Linked DNA regions of Homo sapiens: region 1 is linked to region 2. Evidence: promoter capture Hi-C in human tissues and cell types (Jung and others, 2019). All regions are on one chromosome and are shown on one strand. Each heading gives the region's core, a stretch centred on a gene start or on the middle of the fragment in contact. The rest is flanking DNA. Distances are from core to core; before and after follow the strand shown.

Region 1 (4,214 bases), core at 545-3,044, 190 kb after region 2:
GCAAGAAAATTGGAACAGTAATCAGGAGAAAAATTAGTCAATATAAGCAGACCTAAAAATGATAGTGATGATGGATTAGCAGATAATGACTTTAAAAGATTACACACACACACACACACACACACACTTCCACATTCTCAAGGATATAAAGGACATGTGATCATTATAAGGAAAGAAATGTAACACTTTTAAAGATCCAAATGGAACTTATAGAAATAAAAAATACAACATCTGAAATGAAAATTTCCCTGGGATGGCATTAACCGCAGGATTAAGAATCAGTAAACTTGAAGAAAGAGCAATTAGAAAATATTCAAAATGAAGCACACCAAGAAAACAAAAACTTTAAAAAATGAACAAAGCATTCATGATCAATGGAGCAACATCAAGTGGTCTAACATATAAGTAGAGTCCTAGAAAGAGTGTAGGGGCAGGAAAGAATATTTAGAGAAGTAATGGCCAAGTAATGGCCACACATTTTCAAATTTGATCAAGAATTTTTAGTTAAACAAAAGATGAGATAATTTGCTGCCAGCAGACCTATAATACAAGGAATAAGGAAATTTTTCAGGTTGAAAGAAAATGAGACCAGATGTGTGGAGTTATGCAAAAGAGCAAGGGCCAGAAATGATAAATGTGAAGGTAGATATTAAATTGTCTTTCTCACTTTTTGCATATTTAAAGGATAATTGACAGATAAAGCAAAAATGATAACATTTTATAGTTTGTAACACGTAGAACAAAATATATGACAACAAGGGCAAAAAGAAGGGGAATGGAAGTAATCTGTTGTGGGGTTCTCGTGTTAAATGTGTATATAGCATAAATTTTTAAAGATAGACTGTAATAAGTTTAAATACACATATTATAAATCCAAAGGCAACCACTAAACACAAACCAACAAAGAAATAGCTAATTAGCCAAAAGTAAATGGAAAACTAGAATAATAAAAATACCCAATATAAGCAAAGTAAAGGAAAAAAAGGGAAAAAGGAAGAAAGATAAGAAATAGAAAACAACAAGATAGTAGGTTTAAACCTAACTATATCAATAATTACATTAAATGTAAATAGTCTAAATATTCCAACTAAAAGGAAGAGGTTCTCATATTAGATTTTTTTTTTAAAAAATATCTGGCCAAGTGTGGTGGCTCATGCCTGTAATCTGAGCACTTTGGGAGGCCAAGGTGGGAGGATTGCTTGGAGCCAGGAGTTCAAGACCAGCCTGGATGACATTGCAAGATCCCGCCTCTACAAAAAGTAAAAAATTACTTGGGAAAAGGGTGTGCACCTGTAGTCTGGCTACTTGGGAGGCTGAGGCAGGATGATCTCTTGAGCCCAGGAGTTAGAGGCTGCAGTTAGCTATGATCACACCATGCATTCCAGCCTGGGAGACAGAGTGAGACCCTGTCTCTAAAAATTTTTTTAATTAAATTTAATTTGATTTTAAAAGACCCAAATATAGGTTGTTAACAAAGAAAGCTACTTTAAACATAAATACACAGATAGGTTAAAAGTAAAAGAGAGAAAATGGTATATAATGCAAACACTGAAAAAAGAAAGCTGGCTTAGTATAGTAGTATCAAAGTGGACTTCAGAACAAGGAATACAGCTGGGGAAAAAGAGGGACATTTCATAATAATAAAGGAGTTAATTCATCAAGAAAACATAACTTTAAATGTGTATGCAACTAATTTTTAAAGTTTTAAAATTAAGCAAAAATTGAGAAGAGAAATAGATTAATCCACAATTATAATAGGACATTTTAATACTCCCCTTTTCCAATAATTGATAAATAAATGTTCAGAAAATGAATAAGATATGGAAGACTTGAAGAACATTATCCACCAGCTTGATCCAGTTGACAGTTATAAAACCTTCCATCCAACAATAGCGGAATAAACATAGTTTTAAAGTCCACAGGGAACATATACCAAGATAGATCCTATTCTGGGCCTTAAAACAAGTCTCTATGAAGTTAAAAGGACAAAAATCATACAAAATATGTTATCTGACGACAATGGAATTTAAGTAGAAATAAAATGAAGATATCAAAAAAATTCCCAGCACACTTAATAATCTATGAATTAAATAAATAACTATAAAGAAAACTAGAAAATACTTTAAACTGAATAAAAATGGAAACACAATTTGCCAAAATTTATGGGATGCAGCTAAAGTAGTACTTAGAAGGACAATTTTAGCCTTAAGTGCTTATATTAGTAAAGAAGAAAGGACTCAAATTAATAATCTAAAGTTCTGGCATAAACTAGAAAAAGAAGAACAAATTATTCACAAGGCAAACAGAAGGAAGTAAATAATAAAAATGGGAGCACAAATCAATGAAACCAAAAACAAACAAAAAAAGGCAGAGAAAATCAACAAAACCAAAAGATTGTTCTTAGAAAGAATCAATAAAACTGATAAATTTCCAGCCAGACAATGGAAAAAAGAGAGAAGACATCAACTACCAATATCGGGAATGAAAAACAGAATATAATTACTTATCCAACAGGCATTAAATGTTAATAAGAGAAACTTATAAACAACATTATGCCAATAAATTCAGCAACTTAGATGAAACAGATATATTCCTTCAAATGTATTTTTACCAAAGCTCATTCAAGAAAAATTAGATTACTTAAGTAGCTTACTTAAAATTAATAATTTTATTTATCTATTAAATATTTATCTATTAAATAAAAATAATTTTTAATTAAAAACCTTCCCACAGTGAAAATTCCAGGAGCAGATAGCTTTGCAAGTGAGTTCTACCAGATATTTGAGGAAAAAAACGATACAATTTCTACACAAATTCCTCCAGAAAATAGAAGAGGAAGGAATATTTCCCAAGTTGTATTATGAGGCCGGCATTACCCTCCCATCAAAACCAGACAAAAGCATCACAAGAAAAATATAGGGTGATATTTTCTAGGAACATAGGCGAAAAAATTTAAATAAAATATTAGCAAATTGACCACTTTAATCTGATAAAGGGCATCCACAAAAAACCTACAGCTAGAATCATACTTCATAGTAAAAAACTGAAGCTTTCCTCTTAACCACTTTTATTAAACCTGGTATTGGAAGTCATAGCCAGTGCAATAAAGAAAAACATAAAAGCATACTTGGGGAATTATAATACCTGACTTCAAGGCCTCCTATAAAGCTATAATAATTAAGGCAGTGTGATATTGGCATAGGAACAGGCATATAGATCGACAGAACAGCAGAGAGAGTCCAGAAAGCAGCTCGCATATATGTGATCACTTGATTTTTGACAAAGGCACCAATGTAAAAATAGTACAGCTCTTTCAACAAATGGTAATGGAACAACTGGATATTTATAAGGTCTGAACTATGACCCTTACTTCATATATACAGTACTAACTAAATGGTCATAAACGTAAATGTAAAAGCAAAAATTATGACACTTCTAAAAGAAAACATTGGATAAAATCCTGGAGACTTTAGGTTGGGTAAAGATTTCTTACACAGGACACAAAAAACCCAGCTGTAAAATAAAAATTGATAAATTGGACTTCATCAAAATTTAAAATGTTTGCTCTTTGAAAGACATTAAGAAAATGAAAAGGGCAAACCACAGACTGAGAGAAAATATTTGTAAAACATATTTCTGATAAAGGATTTATGATTTGAATAAACATTTCTCCAAAGAATATATAGGAATGTGTATATAGAATAATCTAAAGTGATACATACATATAAATATGTAATTCATGTATAAACGATGGAAAGAATCAGAAATGGATCACAAAAATGATTTTGAGTTCAATATTCAGTGGAATATATTTAAATAAAGGGTCTTTTTTACATACAAATATTTTAAGGAAAGCTTAAATTCATTTAAATGAATAATGAATAATCCTTGATTTTGGTGCCAAGATACCAAATTTCCAACATTCACCTCATGGCAACACCCCAAGATGTAAGCTCAAAAGGGAAGACTATAGACGTGGGTATATCACATGAATATAATTTTAGAGTTTGCAACATCTCAAAGAGGAAGGTACATTGACTCTCATCTGGCTAATAATTTATAGCTGTAGGTTTATTTCTGGAAGAAGAATAAAGCCTATTCTTTCCTGATGGAGCAGGGAAACGGGAGCAACTCTTGGTTCTGAAGCAATGACAGGCATTGTTCTCCAAAGCACGCAAATGTCTTTTAAAGAAGGAATTGGCATTTGGATCCTG
Region 2 (4,375 bases), core at 1,140-3,639:
GCTGGTCTCAAACTCCTGGCCTCTAGTGATCCTCCCACCTCAGCCTCCCAATGTGCTGGGATTACAGGTGTGAGCCACTGCATCCAGGATCATCTTTTACAAATGCAATTTTTCATGTCCAGATAGGACCTTTTCAACTCTTCATTGGCTTCTTTTGTCTTTAGGATTAAATCCAAAGTCCTTAACCTGACCCTCAAGGGCCCGCCCACCTCTCCCTCCCAGGTAGCTCTCTCAGTCTAAGCACAGTGGCCTTTTCCCAAAGCCTTCACAGACAGAGCCTCTTCCTACCAAAGGGCCTTCAAACCTGCAGTTTCCACAGCTAAATGCACTGCCCACCCCACCCCCTTCTCTATGTTGCCTGCCCTAACTCCTCCTTATTCTTCAAGGCTGAGATTAAATGTCACTTCCTCCAGGAGATCTTTCTTACCCCCTAGCACAGACACGCTCCTTTGTTATACACTCTCATAACTCTCAGGCTTTTTTCCAGCAATCACAACAGCATCACCACACAGCCTCAAGTCCAAGCCACTTGCTTCACATTTGAAGTTGCCAGCTGTCAGACGGGAGATGAAGTAGAAATGGGATTGTTGTTGTCTGCACCCATTAGGACCCAGTTTTTTACAAGGGGGCATTTCCTCGCCCGATTCCAATGTGAGTTATTTTCAGGGCTGAAATTTGATTTAAATTTGGATTCCAACTTGAAGCTTAACATATCTCCAAAGTACACACTACTTTGCGGTACTGAATGAAGAATGTAAGTAGAAGGTTGCCTGCCACATGCCATGTAATGCTCTGAAGGACGGTAGAAACCACCAGCTCTCTCAGAAAAAAATGGTGGAAGAATTTTCAAAACCAAGACAGGCTGGCTTCTGTATATGCTTTGTGTAGAAATCTTGAAAGACTACACACTCAGGGGAGGAACACATATTGGGTGGAACTTCTGCCAAACTTTCAAGAGCAGCTACTTTCTAATGATCTGTAATTCAAAAAACAACCAGAACAAAAACCAGCTGGAAATGCAGTCAAAACACTGCTTTTCCATATTCCTTGCAATTATACTTTCATTTTTAGGTGGTGAGGAACACCAGGATGAGTCATTATAAAAAGCATGACTGCAGATGGCCAAGAGTGATACCGAAGCACCCTTCACCCTGAAGGTTAAGGTTAAAGCTCAAAGTCTGATCGCAAAGCATAAGGAAAAAAAAAAAGAACATGGATAAATGTATGCTGGTGTCCTTCAGCACCAGAAAAGCTGCTACTAAATCACTGGTGTGGCTTGGAATTGGTAGAAGCTTTGATTTGAGGAAAAGAGTATCATTAGCTGTGTAATTTTGAGTTGTTGTTTTAGAGACAAGGTCTCATTTTGTGGCCCAGACTGGAGTGCAGTGATGCGATCATAGCCCGCTGCAGCCTTGAACTCCTGGGCTCAGGCGATCCTCCCACCTCAGTCTCCTAGCCACTCCAGGTCTCGCTGTGTTTGCCCAGGCTGGTCTCAAATTCCTGGCCTCAAGCGATCCTCTCGCCTGGTCCTCCCGAAGTGTTGAGGTTACACGCATGAGCCACCAATCCTGGCATTATGGCATTAGCTGTGTAATTTTTAAAATAACTGTCTTCGGACCAACACCTTTCTTTTGTTCACTGGAGTATCCCTGGGGTGTGTCTCATTCCCTGAATCATACACAGTAGATGCTCAATAGTTTTGTAAATAAAATAAATGAGCTCTCGGATTTACATGCAGACTTTGGATCAGTTTGATCTAGGTTTAAAAGCAAGTGTGGGGAAACTTGAAAAGCCTGGCACCCCAGCCAACTCTTCAGCGCCCCATGCGCTTGGCGCCTACACCTGCCTGGCACGGGGAGGGTGCTATGGGGCTGCCCTAAACCTCACCCCCTCCTGCGGTGGTTCCTGCCCGTCTCGGCTCCTGCACCGCCCACACTATGCGCTGCTGGGCCGAAAGACACGTGGTTCGGTTTTAACTCCAGTCTGCAAGAAACATGACCTCAGCCAAAAAGAGGCCGCTGGTCTGAGAAGAGAAATCATGAGTCATGGATTCGGGGGTTCGGACCTTGGAGCAGGCGGTGAAGTGGGCGTGCGTGGGCTGGTGGGGAAGAGGGATGCCGAAGGAGGCCACAGCCCTTCTCTCCTGGGCAGGCTCCCCAGAAAACTGCCCCCTTGCCGTCATCCAGCGCCCCCGTTCCCGACAGCTGTCTGCCAGGGCGCGGCCGGGGTCCGGGCGGGGCGGTGCTGTCGCTCCGGGTCGCCGCCCCGCGGGCCACATCACCAAGGCCCGGGCTTCCCCGGCGGCGGCGCGGCTGCGCTTGCGCGGGGCTGCCGCGCGGGGGCGGGGCGGCGGGGAGTCAGGGGGCCGCGGGCGCCGACGGCCGGGCTGTCAGCTTGGGGCCGCAGCCGCGCGAGGAGGCGCGGGAGCAGGAAGGAGCTGTGGGCTGGGAGCCGCTGTCCTCCCCGCCACCACCGGTGCCGGGCACCAGGTGAATGCCCCTTCCATCCCCCGCCCCTGGTGTCTCGGTCTGGTCTGAGGAGACGGGGACCCTTCTCACACCGGCCGCTGCCGCCGCCGCGCTCCGGAACAGGTGACCATGGAGGGGAAGTCTCGGCTTCGGCCGCGGCGCCGCGTTCGGGCGCATCAGGTGCGGGAGGGAGGTGGGGCCGAGAGGCCTGGGCTCGGGACCCGGCGGCGGGGGCGCGGGGAGCAGAGGGAGCGGCCCCGCCCGAGCAGCCGTGCCCCCTGCGGACGCCTCTCCGGGCCGCCGGGCAGCGCCCGAGCCCAGGCCCCCGCGCCTGCCCCACCTCGGGCTGAGGGAAGCTGTTCCGCGGCCACCGCGGACAAGCGGTCCCGGGCGCCCAAGGCAGGGACAGGCGGCGGGTGGTGTATGAGTGATGGCTGAAGGTGAGCTGGGATGGAGATGCTGCGAGGCTGGCTCGGGCACACCCCAGATGCCTGTTCAGGGCTCCGCGAGTGCCCCGTCACCCTTTTCTTTCATTCTTCTCTTTATATACACGGAGCATATCTCAAATTTAAAAGCCCAAATGCTCATTTACAGAGAGAGATGACACATATCTATGTGTTACCGATATACATTGATGTGTATATTACGTATATATGTCATCTTTTTTTTGTAGTGACAATTTTTAAATTGAGATATACATCACATGCCATAAAACTCATTCTTCTAAAGTGTGGCTTTTAATATATTCACAGAGTTTTCCAAATATGACCACTATCCAGATCATCATCCCCAAAAGAAACCCTGTCTCTCTTAGTAATCACTCCTCATTTCCCCTTGACCCCACCCCACTAGCCACCACTAATCTACTTTCTGTTTATATGGGTTTGCCTGTTGTGGAAATCTCATATAAATGGAAGCGTACAATATGTGGCTTTTTGTGTCTGGCGTCGAAAGACATACTGTAATGTTTTCAAGTTTCACTCATGTAGTATGTATCAGTACTTTACTTTTTATAGCATATTAATATTGTTGTATCAGTGTACCACATTTGTTTATTCATCAGTTGATGTACATTTGGGTTGTTTCCAGTTTTTGGCCATTGTGTGTAATGCTGCTATGCACATTTGTTTACACGTTTTTGTGGACATGTGTTTTCAGTGCTCTTGGGTATATACCTAGGAGGGCAATTGCTCCGTGTTTCACTTTTTGAGGAACTGCCAAGCAAAGCAGCTGTACCATTTTACTTTCCCACTAAGCAGTGTATGAGGGTTCCGATTTCTTCACATCTTCCCCAAGGCTTGTTACTTTTTTACTGGTTATTTTTTATGATAGCCATCGTAGTGAGTGTGGAATGGTATCTCTTTGTGGTTTTGATTTGCATTTCTCTAATGATTGGGGATGCTGAGCATCTTTTCATGTGCTTATTGGCCATTCATATATTTTCTTTGGAGAAAATGTTCATATCTTTTACCCATATTTTAATTGGGTTGCTTGGCTTTTTATTTTTATTTATTTATTTATTTATTTATTTGGAGACTGACTCTCAGTCTGTCACCCAGGCTGGAGTGCAGTGGCACAATCTTGGCTCACTGCAACCTCCACCTCCGGGGTTCAAGCGATTCTCCTGCCTCAGCCTCCCAAGTAGCTGGGACTACAGGCACACACCACTATGCCCGGCTAATTTTTGTATTTTTAGTAGAGACGTGGTTTCACCATGTTGGCCAGGTTGGTCTCCAACTCCTGAATTCAAGTGATCTGCCCACCTCGGCTTCCCAAAGTGCTGGGATTACAGGCATAAGCCACCACGGCCAGTCTGGGTTGCTTAGCTTTTTATTGAGTTTTATTGTTCATTTATGGAAAAAAATTTCTGTTAATAGGTTTGGATACTGGCACTGACTTGAAAAAAT

The links. The method cuts DNA at HindIII sites, captures the fragments that hold promoters and counts their contacts. A contact is called where the count stands out against the background at its distance.
Region 1: a fragment that was not itself captured here is called in contact with the fragment with the promoter of SLC41A2 in region 2 in 3 of the 25 tissues and cell types used here (adrenal gland, lymphoblastoid cells and thymus).

What each region holds. Positions count from the first base shown.
Region 1 is chr12:104,769,385-104,773,598 of GRCh38, reverse strand. No RefSeq gene overlaps it. Among named protein-coding and RNA genes, the nearest start is that of MIR3922, 180 kb to the right of the region's middle. The HindIII fragment of the contact is 6,951 bases long and covers 1-4,214 here.
Region 2 is chr12:104,956,304-104,960,678 of GRCh38, reverse strand. SLC41A2 (solute carrier family 41 member 2) reads left to right here and starts at 2,389. Exons shown (of 11, transcript NM_001352171.3): 1 at 2,389-2,591. RefSeq lists silencers at 2,211-2,480, 2,671-3,000. The HindIII fragment of the contact is 10,569 bases long and covers 999-4,375 here.